4 separate regions of the Homo sapiens genome follow, and regions 1, 2 and 4 are each linked to region 3. The links are contacts of gene promoters, found by promoter capture Hi-C in blood cells and fetal thymus (Javierre and others, 2016). All regions are on one chromosome and are shown on one strand. Each heading gives the region's core, a stretch centred on a gene start or on the middle of the fragment in contact. The rest is flanking DNA. Distances are from core to core; before and after follow the strand shown. Region 1 has its middle 170 kb from the start of RDUR. Region 2 has its middle 230 kb from the start of RDUR. Region 3 holds the start of RPL24 (ribosomal protein L24). Region 4 has its middle 240 kb from the start of ZPLD1.

What was found. The method cuts DNA at HindIII sites, captures the fragments that hold promoters and counts their contacts. A CHiCAGO score of 5 or more calls a contact.
Region 1: a fragment that was not itself captured here is called in contact with the fragment with the promoter of RPL24 in region 3 in 1 of 17 cell types (naive CD4 T cells); the score reaches 6.0 in naive CD4 T cells.
Region 2: a contact is called between a fragment that was not itself captured here and the fragment with the promoter of RPL24 in region 3, in 1 of 17 cell types (activated CD4 T cells). The highest score is 5.3, in activated CD4 T cells.
Region 4: a contact is called between a fragment that was not itself captured here and the fragment with the promoter of RPL24 in region 3, in 1 of 17 cell types (naive B cells). The highest score is 5.2, in naive B cells.

What each region holds. Positions count from the first base shown.
Region 1 is chr3:102,109,165-102,114,849 of GRCh38, reverse strand. No RefSeq gene overlaps it. Among named protein-coding and RNA genes, the nearest start is that of RDUR, 170 kb to the right of the region's middle. The HindIII fragment of the contact is 5,780 bases long and covers 585-5,685 here.
Region 2 is chr3:102,169,620-102,174,519 of GRCh38, reverse strand. No RefSeq gene overlaps it. Among named protein-coding and RNA genes, the nearest start is that of RDUR, 230 kb to the right of the region's middle. The HindIII fragment of the contact is 1,196 bases long and covers 1,704-2,899 here.
Region 3 is chr3:101,683,508-101,688,714 of GRCh38, reverse strand. It overlaps RPL24 (ribosomal protein L24), which reads left to right and starts at 1,997. Exons shown (of 6, transcript NM_000986.4): 1 at 1,997-2,043; 2 at 2,158-2,233; 3 at 2,787-2,897. The coding sequence starts at 2,039. It overlaps LOC124906262 (endogenous retrovirus group K member 5 Gag polyprotein), which reads right to left. Exons shown (of 3, transcript XM_047449415.1): 2 at 1,326-3,820. The coding sequence starts at 1,336. RefSeq lists enhancers at 237-790, 1,701-1,750, 1,761-2,250, 1,221-2,420, 2,411-2,600 and 2 more. The HindIII fragment of the contact is 5,611 bases long and covers 1-2,726 here.
Region 4 is chr3:102,193,734-102,198,688 of GRCh38, reverse strand. No RefSeq gene overlaps it. Among named protein-coding and RNA genes, the nearest start is that of ZPLD1, 240 kb to the left of the region's middle. RefSeq lists an enhancer at 2,785-3,984. The HindIII fragment of the contact is 165 bases long and covers 2,229-2,393 here.

The DNA of each region.
Region 1 (5,685 bases), core at 2,225-4,724, 420 kb before region 3:
AAGTGTACAAGGAAATTAATGAAGGCCTGTTTGACAAGAGAGCTGTGAGGGAGGGGGAGAGTGGTAGTCAATGCAATCAGTGAAGCCAAATGATGAAGAACTTTGAGGTTCATGATAACAGACTTAGCTTTTATTCGACGTGTGCCCCAAACTCAAGTTCACTAATGTTTCCTCTTTTTAATGAAAGCAAAAAGCTATGCTTATATAACACTGAAAATAAAAATTCAGTTTTTGCTTTCCAGAATTTTCTGTTTCCCAGACTAAAATGAACCTTTATCTTTTTCATATTCACCTCAAGTTCACCTTTTTCTAAAACATTTGAAATACCGCAGAACATCGTGACAGGCTGTATAGTGTTTCCTGGAACTATTTACCTCAGTTCTGCGTTTTCTCAGGCCTCACGTCAAAGTCTTGATCGGCACCCAGATCTGTGCTCATAGCTGCTGACAGAACACACATTTTCTCAAAAGGCAAGAAAAAGGAAGCCACCATTCTGAGAAGAGAAAAAAAAAAAACTCTCCAGAGGAATATCTCTTCTCTATTAGAACCCAGTGTTTCTAGAATAGAGCCACATATAGAAAGCTTCTTACTCTTAAAGAAATTATCTAGATTGATTAATGTTCTAGTGTTTATTGAGTTTCCAGAGTAGCTGGAAGGTCAAGGGAGGTCTTGAGACCTTTATTTTTCATGCTGTTTATGTTTAACAAAAATTTCTTCAAATCCAAAATGTTGTCATCTGGTCTCTAACAAAAATAACAACTTAATAAAAACATTTGATAAAATCTCTGTGAACCTCAGGTTTTTCATCCATAAAATAGACATGACCAGTAATAGCAACAAAGCCAAACATTGAGATGACAGGGCTGCTGCTGAGTGGGCTCAGCCTCCTCACTTCGAGCCATGTTGACTGCCTCGTGGAGGCACCGTGAGCTTTCTCAGCGGTCTAGTGGAGAAGTGAACTCAGCCGAATGGCTTGCATGACACGAGGTGTTGCAGGCTGCTTCACAAAGGCCACTAACATGAATAGTGATCTGTCGGAAATTTGACCGAGCAGCTCACCTGATTAGAATGTATTGCAAAATAGCGACATTTTTGTTCAGACAACTCTGCTACAATATCCTTAATGTCTGCCCTGTAGTAAAGTATAATCATTAAATATGCAGACTTTGGAGTCAGTTAATCTGATATCCAGTCAGTTCACCCACTCACTAGCTGTCGATTAACCTCTCTACGCTTCATTTTCCCTTGTTTGAAAATGGAGATAGTAGGGTTTGTTTAATCAGGTTATTGGAAAGATTATGGCATATTTCCTGTAAACCTGTCAGCACAGTATGTGATCCATGGTAAGTCTCAGTAAACATTAACTTCATCATCATCATCATCAACCTTGAAAGGAGAAGAGTCACTACTTAAAAATCTACACATGACTTGGGAGTGTCGATTTTTCAGTTTCTAGCTATCAGGCTTAAATATTTAAGAATCATTCCAAAGAGTAAATTCAAATGGGGGAAGAAATGCTGAAACTTCCTCCTGACATTCAGTCTTCAGCATAAGGAATTTCTTCCTCATTTTTCAGTTTTTGTCCCTATTTGTTTGTCCATGTGTTTGTTTTTTCCTTTCCTAAGTTGAGATGGAGAATTTCTACTATGTCAGAAACCCTTTGTATCTGAAGTTTGTAACTGGACAACTCTAAGCCTTCTTTTCTGCTAATTCCAGCATTGCATAACACAACTGAAGTCAGATTCTACTTTCAAGATAATTCTTTTATTCTTTATAAAAATTAAATAATGTATGGTGAAAGTGTGTGTAAACAATAGGTTTCCATTAAAATGTCACCCATTATCATATTTATTGTTTCCTTAGATCCTTCAAATATCATAAAACATTGTCACCCACACTGTAAAGGTAACTGGGTTAACTAGTTTGACTAGTTAAAGGGAGGCCAATTGTGGGTTTTACTCTGTTCTTCCATCTCCAACATGAACTGCCTTTGGAACAGGTCATACAAACCAGAAGAGAAGCAATCAGCTATAGATGACAGCTAAAGAGCAGAGGTGCATAATTTACTCCAATGATGTCTTCCCCAAAACATAAATTCATAAAAATGCTTAAGATCACCATAGATAAATGTCAGTATGGCTCCTCTGGTTCAGTAGACAATAATCTCATAAGTAGCATATTCAGCTAAAATTAATTCTAAAAGTCCACAATTTATTCCAAAAGTATAAATCTGCTTTTACCTGAATTATTTATTCAAGTAGCACTTTTTTGCCAGAAAATAATGGTTTTTATGTAAAATCCAAAATCACTAGGGATTCTTCAAAATTTTGCATCTGATATAGGGTTTAACACTTAACATGTGGCATAAAGAGAAAAGGAAAGATGTAGAGGTTACCTGAGCTTGTATTACTGCTTCCATTTTTTCCTTCTTCAATTGCAACCACCTAACTTTAGGCCCTTCCCGTAACAAGAGGGGGTTAATAGGAAAGGTTCCTAAACAGACGTCATGCTTTATATGTAAAATGCCAAACACACAGCATACACTCTATACATGTTCATTTCTTCCCTCACACAACCCCAACTTCTGCATTCATTTGCTAGAATACTACTATATCGGTTTTCTCTTTTTACCTCCAAAAGAGCCAGTATAGCAAAAGATGTGTGTGTGTGTGTATAGTGAATATATTGAATATATATATTATATATATATAGTGTGTATATACAACACAGAGTTGACCTTTGAATAATGCAGGGGTTGGGGCACCAATCCTACCCCACTCCCCACCCCACCCCCACAGTTGAAAATTCACATATGACTTTTGACTCCCTGAAAACTTAACTACTAATAACCTACTGTTGACCAGAAGCCTTATTAATACTATAAACAGTTGATTAACACATATTTTGTATGTAATGTGTATTATATACTGGACTCTTACAATAAAGTAAGCTAGAAAAAAATGTTATTAAGAAAATCATGATTCTTATTTTTAATTTTTAAAAAAGAAAAAGAAAATCAGATGCAGGGTGTGGTAGCTCACACCTGTAATCCCAGCACTTTAGGAGGCCAAGATGGGAGGATCACTTGAGCCTAGGAGTTCAAGACCAGCCTGGGCAACATAGTGGGAACCCCCATCTCTTTTAAAAAGATATGAAGAAAATCATGAGGAAGAGAAAATATGTTTATTAGGTATTAGGTGGAAGTGGATCCTCATGAAGATCTTCGTCATCATGATCTTCATATTGAGTAGGCTGAGGAGGAGGAAGAGGAGGGCTTGATCTTACCATATCAAGGGTAGCAGAGAAAGAAGAAAATCCACAGAACTTTTAAAATAAATATAGTCAGCCTTGGCCGGGCCCAGTGGCTCACACCTATAATCCCAGCACTTTGGGACACCGAGCTGGGTGGATCACGAGGTCAGGGGTTCAAGACCAACCTGGTCAAGATGGTGAAACCCCGTCTCTACTAAAAATACAAAAATTAGCCGGGTGTGGTGGCACATGTCTGTAATCCCAGCTACTCGGGAGGCTGAGGCAGAGAATTGCTTAAACCTGGGAGGCAGAGGTTGCAGTGAGCCAAGATCACGCCACTGCACTCCAGCCTGGGTGACAGAGCAAGACTCTGTCTCAAAAACTAAATAACTAACTAACTAACTAACTAACTAAGTAAATAAATAAATAAAGTCAGCCCTGCGTATCCACGGGTTCCACATCCACAACCAAAGGCAGATCAAAAATACGGTATTCACGGAATGGGAAACTCATGGATATGGAAGACCAGCTTTTCCTATAAGCAGATTTCTCAGGTCAACTGCGGGACTTGTGGGACTTGAGTATGCAGGGATTCTGCTATATGCAGGGAGATGGGGTTCTGGAACCAATCCCCCACAGATACCAAGGCATAATTGTATTCAATTTGATTAGATAGAAAAGCATATCAGCTCTTTTGAAGAATAATAATGAGGCTTCAGTTAATTAGAAAAAGTTATGAAGGAAAAAATAGTAATATAAGAATTCGATATTTATAACAAAAACAATCTAAAAGAGAAATAGACCAATATTTTCAACAAATATTATTCACAGAGGGTATCCATCTATAGTACATAAGATCATACAAACTGATGAGAAAAATCATCAATATTCCAATAAATAAACTAGCAAAACACAAACAGTTAATTCTACAAGAGGAAATAAATAAATGAAAAATGCTTAATGTAGCTAGCAATAACAAAAATACAAATTAAACAATGAAACAGATAAAAAACTGAAGAACACAGTTTGGAGTCAGACTTCGCCTCAGATCCTAGCTTAATCACCTTACCAGCCATAAGATCCTTGCAAAGTGTTTACCACTCCAAATGTTAGTCCCCTCCTAATGAACATATTAACCTCACATGATTGTTTGGAGGATTAATAAAATAATCTTGTAAGATTTAAAATGTAAGGTTATATTCATATTGATTTCTAGCTTTCTTTCTATATTTTATGTTTATCATTCGTGTCTTTAAAATTAAGTATACTTTACAGTTTTTGAATATAGTATTCTATATATGTTCATCAGGTCACTTGGTTAATTTTATAGTTCAAATTTTCCATATATTTTTTATTTTTTTGCCAGCTTATTTTATTTAAAAGAATGTTAGAACTTTTTTACTATGTTTTGGCTTTAACCATTTTTTCATGCAGTTGTCTCCATTTGTTCTTATATCATATCAGGATGTATAATTGATAAATGCAAATTTGGAATTGTTAAATCTTCCTGGAAAATTGAAACTGTTATTATTATGAAGTGTTATTCTTTATCTCTAGGGATGCTTGTTGCCTAAAAGTCTACTTTGTTTGGTATTAATATATTCATACCAGCTTTAAAAAATAATAATAATCTTGATGAAGTACCTAATATAATACCTAATGCAAAGTAATTACAATTACTTAATAAATGGTTGTTATTATCATGATTATTGCCATGTAATTCTTACTATTCTTACTATTATTCTTACTATTATTATTACCATGTAATTCTTAAGAAACAAACATTTTAAATTAACACTTAAAATCTTCTCATTATATATTTCTCAAGATGGTGGTGGTAAAATTTGTGTACCCATTTAATAATAATGCCTTTTTATATTGGTCTAACTTTTGCTAAGTTCAAGTACAAAAATATTTATGTCATGGGAAAAGCTACTTGCAAACCATATATCCGATAGGGAGTTAATATGCAAAATATATAAGAAACTCAGACAAACTCAATAGTAAGAAAACAAACCATTTAATAAATGAGAAAAGAATCTGAATAGATATTTCTCAAAACAAGGCACACAAATGGCCAATAGGCATATGAAAAAAATGCTCAGCATCACTAACCATCAGACAAATGCAAATTAAAACCACAATAAGATATCACTTCATACCTGTTAGAATGGCTATTATCAAAAAGACAAAAGATAAGTGTTGATGAGGATGTGGAGGAAAGGGAACACTTGCACGCTGTAGTGGTAATGTAAATTAGTACAGCCACTACGGAAAACAGTATGAAGCGTCCTCAAAAAGTTAAATAGAGAATTATCCTGTGATCCAGCAATCCCACTTCTAGGTATATATGTAAAGGAAATAAAATCAGTATGTCAAAGAGACAGCCATACTTCCATGTTTATTGCAGCATTATTCACAATAGCCAAGACA
Region 2 (4,900 bases), core at 1,052-3,551, 490 kb before region 3:
ATGTGTAACGTGAATACTATTTACCCTTTTTCCACCTTCTGCCTTCTGTCAGCTTAATGTCCTCCCATTCATTTTTTGCTTTCCAGAAGTTGAGGGAAATACCAATCATATGTGGGGAATTCTATTTTGGTACATAATAAGGGAATTTTCTTGATTGTTCATGTTCTGTGCACTCTAGGTTTTTTGGTGCTTTTTGTATCTTCCATAATCATTGAAAACTCCCCCAAAAAGCATAGGTTATTTTACTGTTACATTTATTAATAAAATCCAACAAACTTTTCTTTATAAATCCATTTTTTTTCTATCTTGTGTGAGTCTGGAAGCCACAATAATGTCAATATTGTCTTAACATTAAATCTTAGTCAAAGAGGACCGTGGCTCATTTTTTATGTATGCATATTTGATATGGCTTTGTTGTTTTGGTAAACAATTCAAACAGTACAGAAAAATACAAAAGGAACATAATTGTCACCTGAAGTTCAGCCCTCAGATGTTTCCAATGTTAGCATTTCTCTGAACATATGCCCCAATGTATCTCCGTGCCTACAGACACATATGGAAATGAATATACAATTTTATATTAAGGGGATCTTTCTATTCAGACTGTTTGAAGCATGGTTTTTTCACTCGACCATATCTTGGACATGTGATTCCATGCTTATAAAATCAGAACTCCAGCCAGGCGCAGTGGCTCACATTGTAATCCTAGCACTTTGGGAGGCTGAGGTGGGCGAATCACGAGGTCAAGAGATCGAGGCCATCCTTGCCAACATGGTGAAATCCCATCTCTACTAAAGATACAAAAATTAGCTGGGCATCGTGGCAGGCACCTGTAGTCCCAGCTACTTGGGAGACTGAGGCAGGAGAATCACTTGAACCTGGAAGGTGGAGGTTGCAGTGAGCCGAGATCACGCCGCTGCACTCCAGCCTGGGCGACAGAGTGAGACTCCGTCTCTAAAATTATAATATAATATAATATAATATAATATAATATAATATAATATAATATAATATAATCCTCGCAGCTTGCAAGGCTGAGTGTAATCTGGCCGTGTCCACTTTTCATATAGCATTGGCGACTTCTCCCACCTTAGTCATCTCACTGGCCTCCTTGTCATTCCTCAAGCAAACAAAGCTTATTCCTACCTGATGGCCTTTATATTTCTGCTTCCTTCCTCCTGGAATGCTTTTCTTTCCATTTTTTCTTTGAGAGACCACCTCATGCTTGACGTTTAGATCCCAGCTGAAATGTCCTCTATTCAGAGATCTCCCACGATGACTTTATCTGAAGGGGCTACTCAGTCCCTCTACATTTAATTACCCTGAGTTATTTTCATAATAATGTTATCTCTGTCTGAAGTTATTTGATTAAGTTGTCAAATGACTGGGACATTTTTAATTGAATCATCTTAACAATAAGGAGGTTAATAAACAAACCAACTGTACTTCAAGCAAATCAAGACATTATCAGAAGCCAAGACTCAAAGAACAATGGGCATGACTTTAGAATAACTTAGGGATCCTTGACTTACATCTACAAACATAAAAGAACAACTGGAATGTCATCTAGAGCATACCAAGAATTCTCACAGTTATTGTTTATAAGTTAAAGAGTTTAAACCATCCTGGTATAGATTTCTTTATTATAATATTTATAAACTGCAAGACAGTTGTCAAAATCTAAATTTTAGGTTACATAAGCTTCCAATAAGTAAAATTATCTTTATGTTGTAAGGAAGATTAGAAGTTTAGCTTCAATGATGAGGTCCCTAAGACATAAAAATGGTAATAAAATATCTTTTCTCAAAATCTACTCATTAATAAACAATCTGGCAATGGAGTCTATAGCCAGATTTTCTGTGAGTAATTGTAAGTATAAATCATACTATCATTTGAGAAAAACATGCATCTCATCTCTAAGAGGAAAATTTTTAGAAACATTGAGAAAGAGTGACCTGGTTCAATTAACATGAATACCATGGACATTTGAAGAAAAAGGAGACTAATGATTCTAAAAATCATTTAATAAAGAGCACTTTATTTGATTTAAAATAAAAATAAAAACCACTATTTTGAGGGCTGTTTTGGTTATTTCTTAGTAATAAATTCACAGGGCTCTAGGACTCTCAGAAGCATCCTGAAAAATGTGAACACAGGCACTAAACATATACATTAAAGATTAATTAGTAGAAAACAATTCCTGTAGAATTCAGAACAAAGTGCTTATAGTTCATTTAAGTAAAAAAAAAAATGTTATTTTCCAATTTAAAGGATACTTGGAAATTAAGCATTTCTTTCTTCCCACTGAACTATATATTTTAAGACAATTTGGGATCTTCAGTTGGCCATGAATGTCTATTGAGTATGGATGTGTTTCCTCTACCCAGAACTTGAACTCATTAAGGGAGGGAAGCATTGTTAATTTCATAATTGTACAGAAAATTCCACTGTAGAAATGCCTGCTGTAACTGAAGCATTGCGTCAAGCATTCTGAAGTTGTCAAATGAAATTAAATGATGAGAATAATTTTGGAGATGGTTGTTTTGTACTTTTGGGGTGAATCAATTTTTCTGTCCTTTTATTAAGTATGTTACAAGTCTACAATGTTCTTCCCATTACTCCCCAAATACAATAATCAAAATCTCCCATTCTACTTGCACAACATTCATATCCAGTCTTTTTAGGGCTCCTTCTCCAGGTGTTTTTAAGGTTTTCAATGATTGCATGTACATGTTCCACAACTCTGTGTAGGTTGTTGGATATCCATTGTCAATTCAGGCAGCTGCTCCACAGATCTCTGCTGCTGCAGCTCTCCAAAGTCCAGGCCACAGTGTCCAGTAATACTTTACTGAAGACTGGGGCATTATAAAGGGAAATGGGGAGTCAGAGACAGAAAGCTTAAAATGGAATTAATTATTTCTCCTCCTAAAGACAATTGGTCATATCTCTTCACTGGAAGTCTCTCAACTGATCTCCATCCTCCTTAATGTTGATGCTTACTGCCAACACGTTACTTCCCATAGACAGAAGCATCCTAAAGGGACCATTACCTTTCATTGCTCCCCCTACTTAATCAACATGAAATCATAAAATGTGTAGGGATGCCACTCTGCCCACAAGAGTCAAGAGTTCCTATAATAGAACAGTTGAATTTTTCTTTATTCCTAACTTTTGCAATATAGAATGGCATTTTGGATTTACCTATGGATAACTGGAAGGGGACATTAGAGTTTTGCCCAAAAGAAAAATACAATCTTGACCCAAAGATAAATTATGGCTCTACCCTTAGAGCAACAGAGAAAACTACTAAGAGCTTTAAAATCATAATCTGGTAGTTTGAATGAATAAATTAGATCTACAATATAAAAAGATCTGGAAAATATTAAAATGTTGCAAAATAATATAGCATAAAATAATTTCTGTAAATGTATTTTATATAAAGATACATATGGACAGTAAGTGTACAGAAACATGAGCAGGGAGGCTCTTCACCAATCTTAAAATATTGGTTGTCCGTGGGGAAGCAGACAGAATGAGCTATGAAAAATAATACAAATGAGACTTCAATTCTATAAGATTTTATTTTCAAAAATAAAATGAAAAAAATGGCAAAATATTTACATATTATAAATCCAGGTGGTAGACAAGTGAATGAATAAATATATTTAGCAGTTCTGGTTCTGATATTTGCAGAGTAGCTTATGGTAGATAAACCATTCCATAGATAACAATCATAAAGTCTGGACAAAATTTAAGAAACAACACGTTGACGTCACTGTAGCATGACCAAAAGAAGATAGATACCAGGAGGGAATTATACTGTGTAATGTAGGTATATTAGGCTTTTCCACTTTGTATATTTTCCAGTCTGTATGTCTCACCTACAATTCAAGCAGAAAGATGCAGGTTTGTTGGTGTCAGTTGTCAAAGGGCAGAGTTTGGATCCAAGAGTCCCAGTGGAAAATAACAACTGGAAAGCTAAAAGAACTTAGCAGAGATTTGGCTGCTCTGCTTTACAGAGAAGAGTCTAGAGTCTGCAGCGGGGGTTTGGTTAACATCTTGGGCTTTCTACATACTCATCCAAATAAAACTGAAAATCAACCTTTTGCCTAACAAACTTAAAACCAAATTACAATTAATCATCCAGTAATTTAATTTCCTGCTATGTTATTATATACTAGATATGAAGAATGACACATTGTAGAGATCTGGATTCTATTATCTTCCTCTGAAGTGTGTTGATTTGTTTTTCTAACAGGTAATTAGATTAATACCTGTGCAAATCACCCCAACTCCCAGGCACTCTTACAGCTGTGGTGATGGTAATGACAACAATGAGCAGAAGAAGGGGAAAATTTCTCTCTGGCCAGATGGTCTGATTCTTGGTGGTGCCAAGAATGTGCAAGGCAATCCACTGCTTTTTTTCTCTCTATCCTATCATGACTTAGCCCAGATGCAGAGGCAGTTCTAAGAAATGTACAAGTTCTAAGAGTGGGGAGACTAAGTCCCTAGGTTCCTTGCCACAGGAATGGAGAGTAGTGGGTGATGGATACCAGGAATCAGAAAATGTCAGGAATATTACAGAGAGGACAGAGCTGAAGAAAATGATCTCATAAATTGCCTGCAAACTTTTAGTCTCACTTTAAAACTGTGAATGAATGGATCTAATCCTAAACAGCAAGATTCAGTTGAGAACTGAACTACAACATAGATCACTGAATGGATCCCAAACTGGCCACTGATGGTGCACACATAGGACAAATAAGAAAAGTGCTACATATTAATAGATTTTGAAAACAGAACAGGCATAGAACCACCATCTACAGAAAGGTGGTTAAGAACCTGGATATAACCAGTTTAATTGTCCAACTAAAAGAAAAAATATTTTCCATAAGATTTA
Region 3 (5,207 bases), core at 748-3,247:
GCGGGGTTTCATCGTGTTACCCAGGCTGGTCTCAAACTCCTGACCTCGTGATCCGCCCGCCTCGGCATTCCACAGTGCCGGGATTACAGACGTGAGCCGCTGCACCCGGCCTCCTTTTTTTTTTTTTTTTTGATATGGAGTTTTGCTCTTCTTGCCCAGGCTGGAGTGTAGTGGCGCGATCTTGGCTAAATGCAACCTCTGCCTCCCGGGTTCAAGCGATTCTCCTCCCGCAGCCTCCCGAGGAGCTGGGATTACAGGCGTGCGCCACCACGCCCAGCTAATTTTTGTATTTTTAGTAGAGAAGGGGTTTCACCATTTTGACCAGGCTGGGCTGGAACTCCTAACCTCAGGTGATCCGCCCACCTCGGCCTCCCAAAGTGCCGTAATTACAGGCATGAGCCGCCATGACTGGCCACCTAACATCATTCTTAAGACTGGTTCCAGGCCCGGCGCGGTGGCTCACGCCTGTAATCCTAGCACTTTGGGAGAACGAGTGGATCACCTGAGGTCAAGAGTTTGGGACCAGCCTGGACAACATGGTGAAACCCCATCTCTACTAAAAATACAAAAATTAGCCGAGCGTGGTGGCAGGCGCCTGTAATCCCAGCTACTCGGGAGGCTGAGGCAGGAGAATCAATCGTTTGAACCCAGAGGGCGGAGGTTGCAGTGAGCCGAGACCGCGCCACTTCACTCCAGCCTGAATGAAAGAGCGAAACTCCGTCTCAAGGAAAAAAAAAAAAAAAAAAGACTGGCTCCAACACAATTGTACAGTTTTCATGACATTAGTCAGCCAACTTGTTAGACATTCCAAATATCTTCAACCAGCTACCTTACAAAACGTTTTTAGGGTGAGTTGCATACATAGAAAGCAGAACTCAGTCATTACATTTGTTTCCTAGTCATATACTGCAACCTCCCACAGAATTCAAGAATTGCCTCTGGCCACTCCTTGTCATACGATGAAATATGTAGCATCATAGAAGGGCTCAACAGATTGAGCCCTTGGCCTCCCAGCGGGGCTCCACCGACCCCCTCAACTTCACTAGGCAGCAACTCCGAATTGTAGTTCTTAGGCAGGTACTTAATAGGAATTTTGGAAACTGAATGAGCTCATGTTTAAAAAGCCTTTGGCATAATTCCCGGCACAGAGAAAGCGCTCAAAGAATGTTAATTATAATTAATGCAAAGCGCCAACGCGCACTGTTCGATTCGCACAGCCTGAGAAACGGTTCGGTTGTCATTACTTTCTTATAAATGGTGAAACTATTAATTTGTTTGGTTGAGGAAATGGGCCAACAGGGAAGGCAAAATGTGACTGGTTTTACCTGCGGGGCATTCGTCTTTGGGTCTCTTTATGAGAAGAGAGGACACCTTTCTCTTCAGTTCACATTCCCTGCAGCCGGAAGATGGCTCTAGGATACTTGGCAGTAAGAGAGGCAGAATGGGCCGGGCGCAGTGGCTCCCGCCTATAATCCCAACACTTTGGGAGGCCGAGGAGGGCGGACCACCTGAGGTCAGGAGTTCGAGACCAGCCTGACCAACATGGAGAAACCCCGTCTCTACGAAAAATACAAAATTAGCCGGACGTGGTGGCACATGCCTGTAATCCCAGCTACTAGGGAGGCTGAGGCAGGAGAATCGCTTGAACCTGGGAGGCGGAGGTTACGGTGAGCCGAGATTGCGCCACTGCACTCCAGCCTGGGCAACAAGAGCGAAACTCCGTCTCAAAAAAAAAAAAGAGAGGAGAGACAGAGACAGAATGACTCATAAACCAACTGTCTGACTGCCTTTTTGGCAGGCCCTCTGGGCCCGAGAACCCTCCAGCGCCTCTGGATGAATTGCGCCAGAGGAAGTCAGCTGTCAGGGAAAACGAGATCTTTCGCCTCGCGATGATTACGTCATCAAGGAGGGCCAGGAGCATCGAAGGATATTGGGGAGGAGATTTCCGGCCCCCATCCCCGCAGCGACCTTATAAGGTCTCTTCCCATGATTCTCTCTTTCTTTTCGCCATCTTTTGTCTTTCCGTGGAGCTGTCGCCATGAAGTAAGCACGACCCGTGGTTCCCAATCCGCTTACATCCTCGGGCAGAACTCCTCTCTGTCGTCCCTGGCATGGCTGTAGACACCCTCCCTGATGGACTTTCACTTTTTGTTGCAGGGTCGAGCTGTGCAGTTTTAGCGGGTACAAGATCTACCCCGGACACGGGAGGCGCTACGCCAGGACCGACGGGAAGGTAAAAAGCCGCGTCGGCTTCACCTACCTTCTTGTACTCCGAGGAGGAAAGGCTGGTTTAATTCGGTTTAGGCGGGTTTATTCCCCACATCACCACTGGCCTCTGGAAGTCTTCGTGGACGCTCTGTGGACTGGTCGTTAGGACCAGAAACCTCTAAGTGAACCAGTGTTGATTATTTATTGTGAGCCAGGTCGGACATCAGGAGGGGTTTATGTAACTGATGTCCCGGTGTAAGGGAAATAACTGAGGTACGGAGGTACCCTTTGGAATCCTGGGACGGACAAGAGCAGAATGCTTCCCAGAAGGACGCACCACCCTGTCCTTTGCTATGAGCCTAGATTTCCTGCTCTCGAGAAAAGACTAAACGCAAGGACCTTCATAGTGTGACACAGTTACCTGCCAGTTATGTGACAGCCTTTTGGTCCTTGTGGGCCTCAGTTTTGTAAAATGATAAGCCAGAACTAGCATATTGATCTTCTAAGGATTCCAAGCTTACTCAGCCTCTTGTACTTTGTATAGTTAAATAGTAATTCCTTTGCATTTGTCACTCTAGGTTTTCCAGTTTCTTAATGCGAAATGCGAGTCGGCTTTCCTTTCCAAGAGGAATCCTCGGCAGATAAACTGGACTGTCCTCTACAGAAGGAAGCACAAAAAGGGACAGTCGGTAAGTGGAATACGCCTTGATGTTGGGGGCTATCTCTTAAGTTGTCAAAGCTCTCTGAACGTTGGTTTTCTGCTCTGTAAAATTAAATCAGACTGTATGCGAAAGAGCTCTTAAACTGTAAAGCGTCAGCAAAATGAAAAAGATATTATAAACTGTCTCTATATATTTTAGGCTAGTAGCAATACCGAGTTGAAATTTTAAAGTCAGATAAATTACGTTAAGCACCTTTGCGTTATAGGGCAGGGTGGAAGGGCTTAGTTTTCCAGTGGGAGGAAATTGAGAAGTTACCATAATTTGGTTTTGATTGCAATATTTACAGGATTAGTCCTAACATAGCCAGTGGACCATGAACCAGTCCACCATACACTAGTTCATTCACTAGAAAAACAGTGGTTTTTCTGGTCCTTGTTAAGTGTCCTTTTAGCTGGGTTATACATGAGAAAAAGTTTGAGTGCCATGGTAGGACTAGTATTCAGGAGGCTTGGGAATACTTACTGAACACCTTCTGGATGAAGGACTTTTCTAGGTATTGTGAGAAATAAATGCCATCAGACATAAAATATGTTGAAAGTTCAGAGGAAGGAGAAACTTAAAAGTGGATATGACACACCTATTAGGGTGACTATTCAGGAAAAAAAAAAACAGGAATTACAGGTGTTGGTGAGGATGGGGAGAAATTGGAACCTTTGTGCATTGCTAAATATGCAACAGCTGTGAAAAATCATTTGGTGTTTTCTCAAAAGGGTAAACATAAAAATTATCCCAGCAGTTCCACTTCTAAGTTATACCCTAAAACAGTTGAAAGCAGGGACTCTATAACTTGTATATCAGTGTCATAGCAAATCCGGGCTTGGTGGCAGCGGCTGTACTCTAGCTCCTCCGGAGGCCAAGGTGGGAGGATTGTTTGAGGCAACATAGGAGACCTTTAAAAAAAAAAAAAGTTATTTAGATGGATAATGGTGATAGCTACACAGCGCTATGAATGTACATAAGGCCACTATACCTTTTTTTTTTTTTTTTTTTTTTTTTTTTTTTTTTTTTGGGGAGACAGGTCCTCTGTTGCTCAGGCTGGAGAGCAGTGGCAGGATCACAGCTCACTCCACCTCAACCTTATGGGCTCAAGTGATCCTCCCACCTCCGCCTACCCCGTGGTCCACAGGCACATGCCACCATGGCCCAGCTATTTTTTAAATATATTTTGAGGAGACAGAAATCTTTGCGATGTTGCCCAATTTCGTCTCAGATTCTTGGGCTCAAGTAATCCTCCTGCCTTGGCCACCCAAAGTACTGGCATTACAGGCGCGAGCCATCCTGCATAGCTAAATTATAATTTAAAAAGTTAAAATGAGGCTGGGCATGGTGGCTTACATGCCTGTAATCCCAGCACTTTGGGAGGCCAAAACGAGTGGATCACCAGGTCAGGAGTTCAAGAACAGCCTGGCCCACAGAGTGAAACCCTGTCTCTACTAAAAATACAAAAAAAAATTAGCCGGACATGGTGGCAGGTGCCTGTAGTCCCAGCTACTTGGGAGGCTGAGGCAGGAGAATAGCTTGAACCCAGGAAGTGGGGGGTTGCAGTGAGCTGGGATTGTGCCACTGCACTCCACCCTGGGTGACAGGGTGAGGCTCCATTTAAAAAAAAAAAAAAAAGTTAAAATGGGCCTAGTGCAGTGCCTCACGCCTGTAATTCCAGCACTTTGGGAGGCCCAGGCAAGAGGATCCCTTGAGCTTGAGCCCAGGAGTTTGAAACCAACCTGGCAACATAGTAGTGAAGACCCCAGTTTCTACTTAAAAAAATAGAAAACAGGCTGGGGATGGTGGCTCACGCCTGTAATTCTACCACTTGGGGAGGCCAAGGCGGACAGATTGCCTGAGCTCAGGCGTTAGAGACCAGCCTGGGCAACATGGTGGAACCCGGTTTCTACTAAAAATACAAAAATTAGCCGGGCGTGGTGGCGGTTACTTGTGATCCCAGCTACTCAGGAGGCTGAGGCAGAATTGCTTGAACCCCGGAGGTGGAGGCGGAGGTTGCAGTGAGCCAAGATCATGCCACTGCACTCCAGCCTGGGCAACAGAGCAAGGCTGAGTCTTTAAAAAAAAAAAAAAAAAAGAAAAGAAAAACCAAAAGGTTAAAATTGTCAACTTTACATTTTTACCACAATAAAAAAAATGTTTAAGTGTTCGTTTGAGACAAGAATATTAAACAGGTAAATACTGCCATTTACTGTAGAAAAACTGCCATTTTACTGTAGAAACAATAAGATTGCATCTTTCTAAAAAGTTTAAAATTAGCATGTCTGTAAACCACCA
Region 4 (4,955 bases), core at 1,062-3,561, 510 kb before region 3:
GTGAAAAAGTAGAAGAACCAACACACTGAAATCCATTCTGGGATTAAGGGATAGATGGAGTTCAGGTACTAAAGAGAGTGAGCTAGAAATGTAGGGCAGGGCACTAGACAAAGAGATCAGAGAGTAGCATATATAAAATTGAGATTATGAAGGGGTTGCAGTCATTGGGAATAATAAGGCCTAGGATATTACCAGGGAAATGAGTGGTTGAGGTAGAATACAGAGCAATATCATCATTGTAGGGGAGTTCCAGAAATGGAAAAGGCAGTGTTGAAGGAATCATTTGTGCTGTGATTTTTGTTGAAATCACCAAGAATTGAGACAGGAATAGTACTGAAGAGTGTAACAAAGAGCCAGTAGCTAAATTCATCCAGAAACAAATAATCCAAGGACCAGAGATGAAGGACAGTAGAAGGTATAGTATGATGAAGTGAGACTCAAAGTTCGAAGAGCTTAGGGTAGAATGGAAGAAGAACAGTCTGAAAATGGTAGTAAGAAACAAGGAGGGACACCTAACCCATATCTAGACTCAGTGGAAGTAGAGTTTCAAGAGGAAAAAAAAATGTCACCAAAGGAAAGGGCTACAGGCGAAGTAGGATCCTCAAAAAAGATCTTGGTTTTGGTCAGAGCAGGAAGGTGAACAAAACTGTGTCAGGGTCCAATCAGGAGAAAAGAACCCACATCAGATAGTTTATTTTACTCAAGGAGTTGGTTATGTTAATAAAAGTTACTGGAAGAGCTGAGAAGCCCAATGAGGTACAGTAAAGAAACTCAGAGATTAACAAGAGTAGAAGGCCACTGTCAGTGATTTTTCTGGAAAGCCCAGAGAAGGAGGAGATGGTTCCATGCCCAGGAGCTCAGCCACCTGGCAGGACCTGGAACCAGGTGGAAGCTGGGACCAAAGAGGAAGTTCATCCAGAAGGAACCAGAACAAAAGAGAAGACACTGCGAGAGGCTGATGTGGAGAGGATGGGGAGGAATACCCTGTTTCTCCTTTACCACCACTCGTTAATGTCCCACCAGTGCTTTCTGTTTTCTGAGCCTAGATGGCAGCCAGGTGACAACAGAGCTTTTGCCAAGCTCTGTCACCTGTAATAGAGAGCAGAGGAGAGGAAAAGTGGGAAACAGGCCTGAAAACAAGCAGGCAAATGATCAGCACAGGAATCCAAACAGCTGATGCTACAAAGGTTTGGCTATGATGTTCCATGAGTTCCTGAGGGTCCAATGGAAATATTTCAGGAGCTGGGGAGGGATTGGACATGGTACAAAATCGAGCATGTGCAGAATTACATGAAAAGTGCGGAAGATAAAGGGAGACCAGAAGAAGTCTGGGGCTTCTTACAGCAACTGAAACAAACAGGAGTTAAGAAAATAATGAGGCTGGTCCTAGTGAGCTGCAAACAGATGGTATCAGGGAGGGCTGGGGACATGTGGTTTACTATTTTTTGGCATTAATGTTAGAAAAGGCCTGCGCACATATGTAAGTCAAGAAAGAAGTGGCTATGGAAAGTAACAGAGATGGATAACAGCAGAAAAAAAAAGAAGAGAAGAGATTAAAAGAAGAAAAAACAGTTAATCAAGTGTAGGAAGCATCTTAGTCTACAAATTCTGATATGTGAGAAATACAGCTTTATTTGTTTCAGAAACCAATCTCTTTCTCGAGTCCCTATTCCACTGAGGTAGTAGAAATGTAACCTAATTCTCTCCAAGTTTTATTTTCATCTAAATTCTTCAATCTTACTTAGTACTAAGGTGTGTGTGGTTGACATGCCTGTGTGTGGCTAGTGTGTGTGTGCACATGTGTGTGATGGGAGTGGGCAATTGAAGGAACACTTGCATTTGAACCTCAGAGTCATCTCACACTGGCATCTACTGTCCCATCTCAGATCACACATCCTCCTCAGTGGCTGGTCCATCTGGGCACCTGAAAAAATGTCCTTGGTTTCCACCTGCACGGTCCCTTCAGGAACTCCTTCTCCACCATTCTTGGTTGCAAAGATGTCATTTGCTGCTCCCTCATGATAATACGGTGTGAGAAACTCTAGGAGCCGTCTAACATCCCATCTGGTTAGAGCCACATGGCAGAGCTGTTTTCCCTTCTCTCACCAGCTGCTCTGAAGAGAAATGAGGTATAGGCTGTCTCTCCTCTCAGATCCCCCAAGCTATCTAGAGCTATTGTCAAAGCCTCCAGCTTGGCACAGGACCTTTTCCAGGAACCCCCCCAAGCTTCCTTGCCTTTTCTCATTTATTTCTTATTCTGATAGCCCAAGGAATCCTTCCTGGTGGGGGAGGCCATGGGTGAAAAGTTTTCCTCCCTAGTTTCCAAGCCGCTTCTGTCTTGGTCTCACTCCTGTTCTAAGCCCTCATGAAGAAACAAAAGCCCCAACAAAGCTTTTTCCCTCTCCTGAGGCAATACATATGGGCTAGTTATTTATATGGAGGCAAGTAAGAGACAAAGAGGAGAAAGTGCCATGGGGAAAAAAAAAAAACCATAGGATAGTCTTTCAAAAATATTATACCTCCCAGAATCCGAGACAAGGTAGCAGCAGGCTGGCCTAAGCATCACACAAGAGCAGAGGAAGGCTAACAGTAAAGAAACATTTTGAGTTGGAGATTACAATTCATACTAAATGGTTATATTTTCTTAAACATTTCCCTTTCATAGGATGAGCTTCTCTGTCAGGAAAAAGGTGAGATACTTTCTGGGAGTAAAATGAGGTCGAATTGAAGAAGGTTTACTAAGGACAATCAGCTCTAATAGCCCTTTGAACCATTAACACGTGGGTTTCTCACAACAGGTAAGGTTGGCATCACAATTCCCTTTTACACATGACAGAATGAAAGCCTGGGCATTCATCCAAAGTCACATGAACCAGTGGCAGTGCTGTGAAGGTTTGAGGTGAGTGGAAACGTTTATTCCCATCAACTCCTGGCTTCCTTCTTCTCCCATGACTGAGCTTTAAAACGTAACTTGTCTTCAAGTGTATAAAACTCTCCAATCAGTGATTTAAGAAAAAAATTTTCTGTGTCATTGACAGGAGTTGTTACCTGCTTGAGAAAATGAAACCAGGACGTGACTCAGCATGGAAAAGTGGGAAGTGATTTTGTGGGAACATTATCTCCTACAGTAACCAATTTTGCTGGGGCTTTGATTTGCTAATGAGCAATACTTCCACAGAAACATACATATTTTCATCATATAACTCCTAAGAGCAGTGCACCTGCCTCCTGGGACAGGCTGGCACAGGCACATTCTTATGCTGGAATCTGTGTCCCAGGGGTCAAGTGGGATGGGTGGAGTACATTTCTGAAGCAGCCTGAAGCAGGAAGAGCAAGAGCTGTGTAATTGTTCAGTCTTTGGAGAGCACCAAAAAGCAGACTCCGGAAGCAGAGTTCAGCCATCAAGTATAGAGCAGAGAGGACACCAGAGGCAAGATCTGAAAGTCCAAAGCAGGTAGAAGCAGCACAGAAGTGAAAATAATAGTCTAGGGGAAGCTTAGCCCTCCAGACTTTACAAGAAGTCAGCAAGTGATATTAGAAAAGAAATAATTATGCTTTAAATACCATCCCCCATGTAAATATTTCTTTTTTTAACTTCATTGTTTAATAACAATGGGTTATAACAGGCAAATGATTTTTTCTGAGATGGGGTCTCACTCTGTTGCCCAGGGTAGAGGGCAGTGTTGCTATCATGGCTCATCACAGTGGGGCTCAAGCAATCCTCCCACATCTGCCTCCAGAGTAGGTGGGACTATAGGGGCGAACCACCACATCTGGCTAATTTTCATTTTCATTTTTATTGTAGAAGTGGAGTTTCACCATGTTGCTCAGGCTGGTCTCAAACTCCTGGGCCCAAGCAATCCTCCCACTTTAACCTCCCAAAGTGCTGGAATTACAGGCATGGGCCACTGCACCCAGCCAGACATGTGATTTTTAATTTGACTTTTTTCTTCATATATTATGAATATTTTACCTTTCCTTTATTTTTCAATCTACAGCAGTTTGATTTTTGCTATGACTGCTCCCTTGTCTGCCCTAATAAAAGAAACAAGTGGTACAATCATTGCTAAATCTAAGGCCACCTCCAGTCTTGTCTTACTTTTATCTTCCTTGGCCACTTCTTCCATAATCAAACATCCGTCCTTTGACTTTCTCAACATGCCTTTATCCTGGTTTTCATCTATTTCTAGCTGTTCCTTCTGATCTCCTCGTTAGTCACTCTCTTCTGATAACCCTTGAATATAGAAGCCAGACCCCTCTCCCTTTCTATTTTATTTTACCCACCACCTCTGCATTTTGATGCATATATTCAAATATTTAGCCCTATCCGTTCCTGACTTCTGGACCCTTATGCAACCTGGATTTCCCACTGACTCGTTAAACTCAACATGCCCAAAGCAGAATTTCTTATCTCTTCTTCCTTCTCAAATATGAGGATCGTCTTTCTTTCAGCTTGGAGGCAGCAATCGTCACAGTGCCCTCTTGCCTCTTCACCGTAGTAACATCAATAACCACAGAGTTGACATTTATGGAACTCAAATGCTATGTTAAGACTTTACAGACATTTTTTAATTTTCTCAAGAAATCTATGAGGTAAGTACTATCATCACCCTTACTTTACAACAAGGAAATTAAAGCTTAGGAAGGTGAAGAAACTTGCTCAGGGACACCCAGCAAATAAGTGACAGATCTAAATGTCAGACATAAAAATGTGTCTCCATAGCCCAGAGATCACACTCCTAGCCCCACACACTCTCATAAAAAGACTCACTAAGTCTGGAATTGTGAAAAATGAATGTTTACAAATGTGAGAAAATAAAATAAAATTCAAAATGTAAAAATTGATTAAGATGAAAACATATGTTGTTTATTCAAATGTAAGTGTCCACCTGGATCAACCTGGCTGGCTCAGCTTGGCAGTCAGTTCTGGTTTCTTCTTGCCACAATCTTGTCTA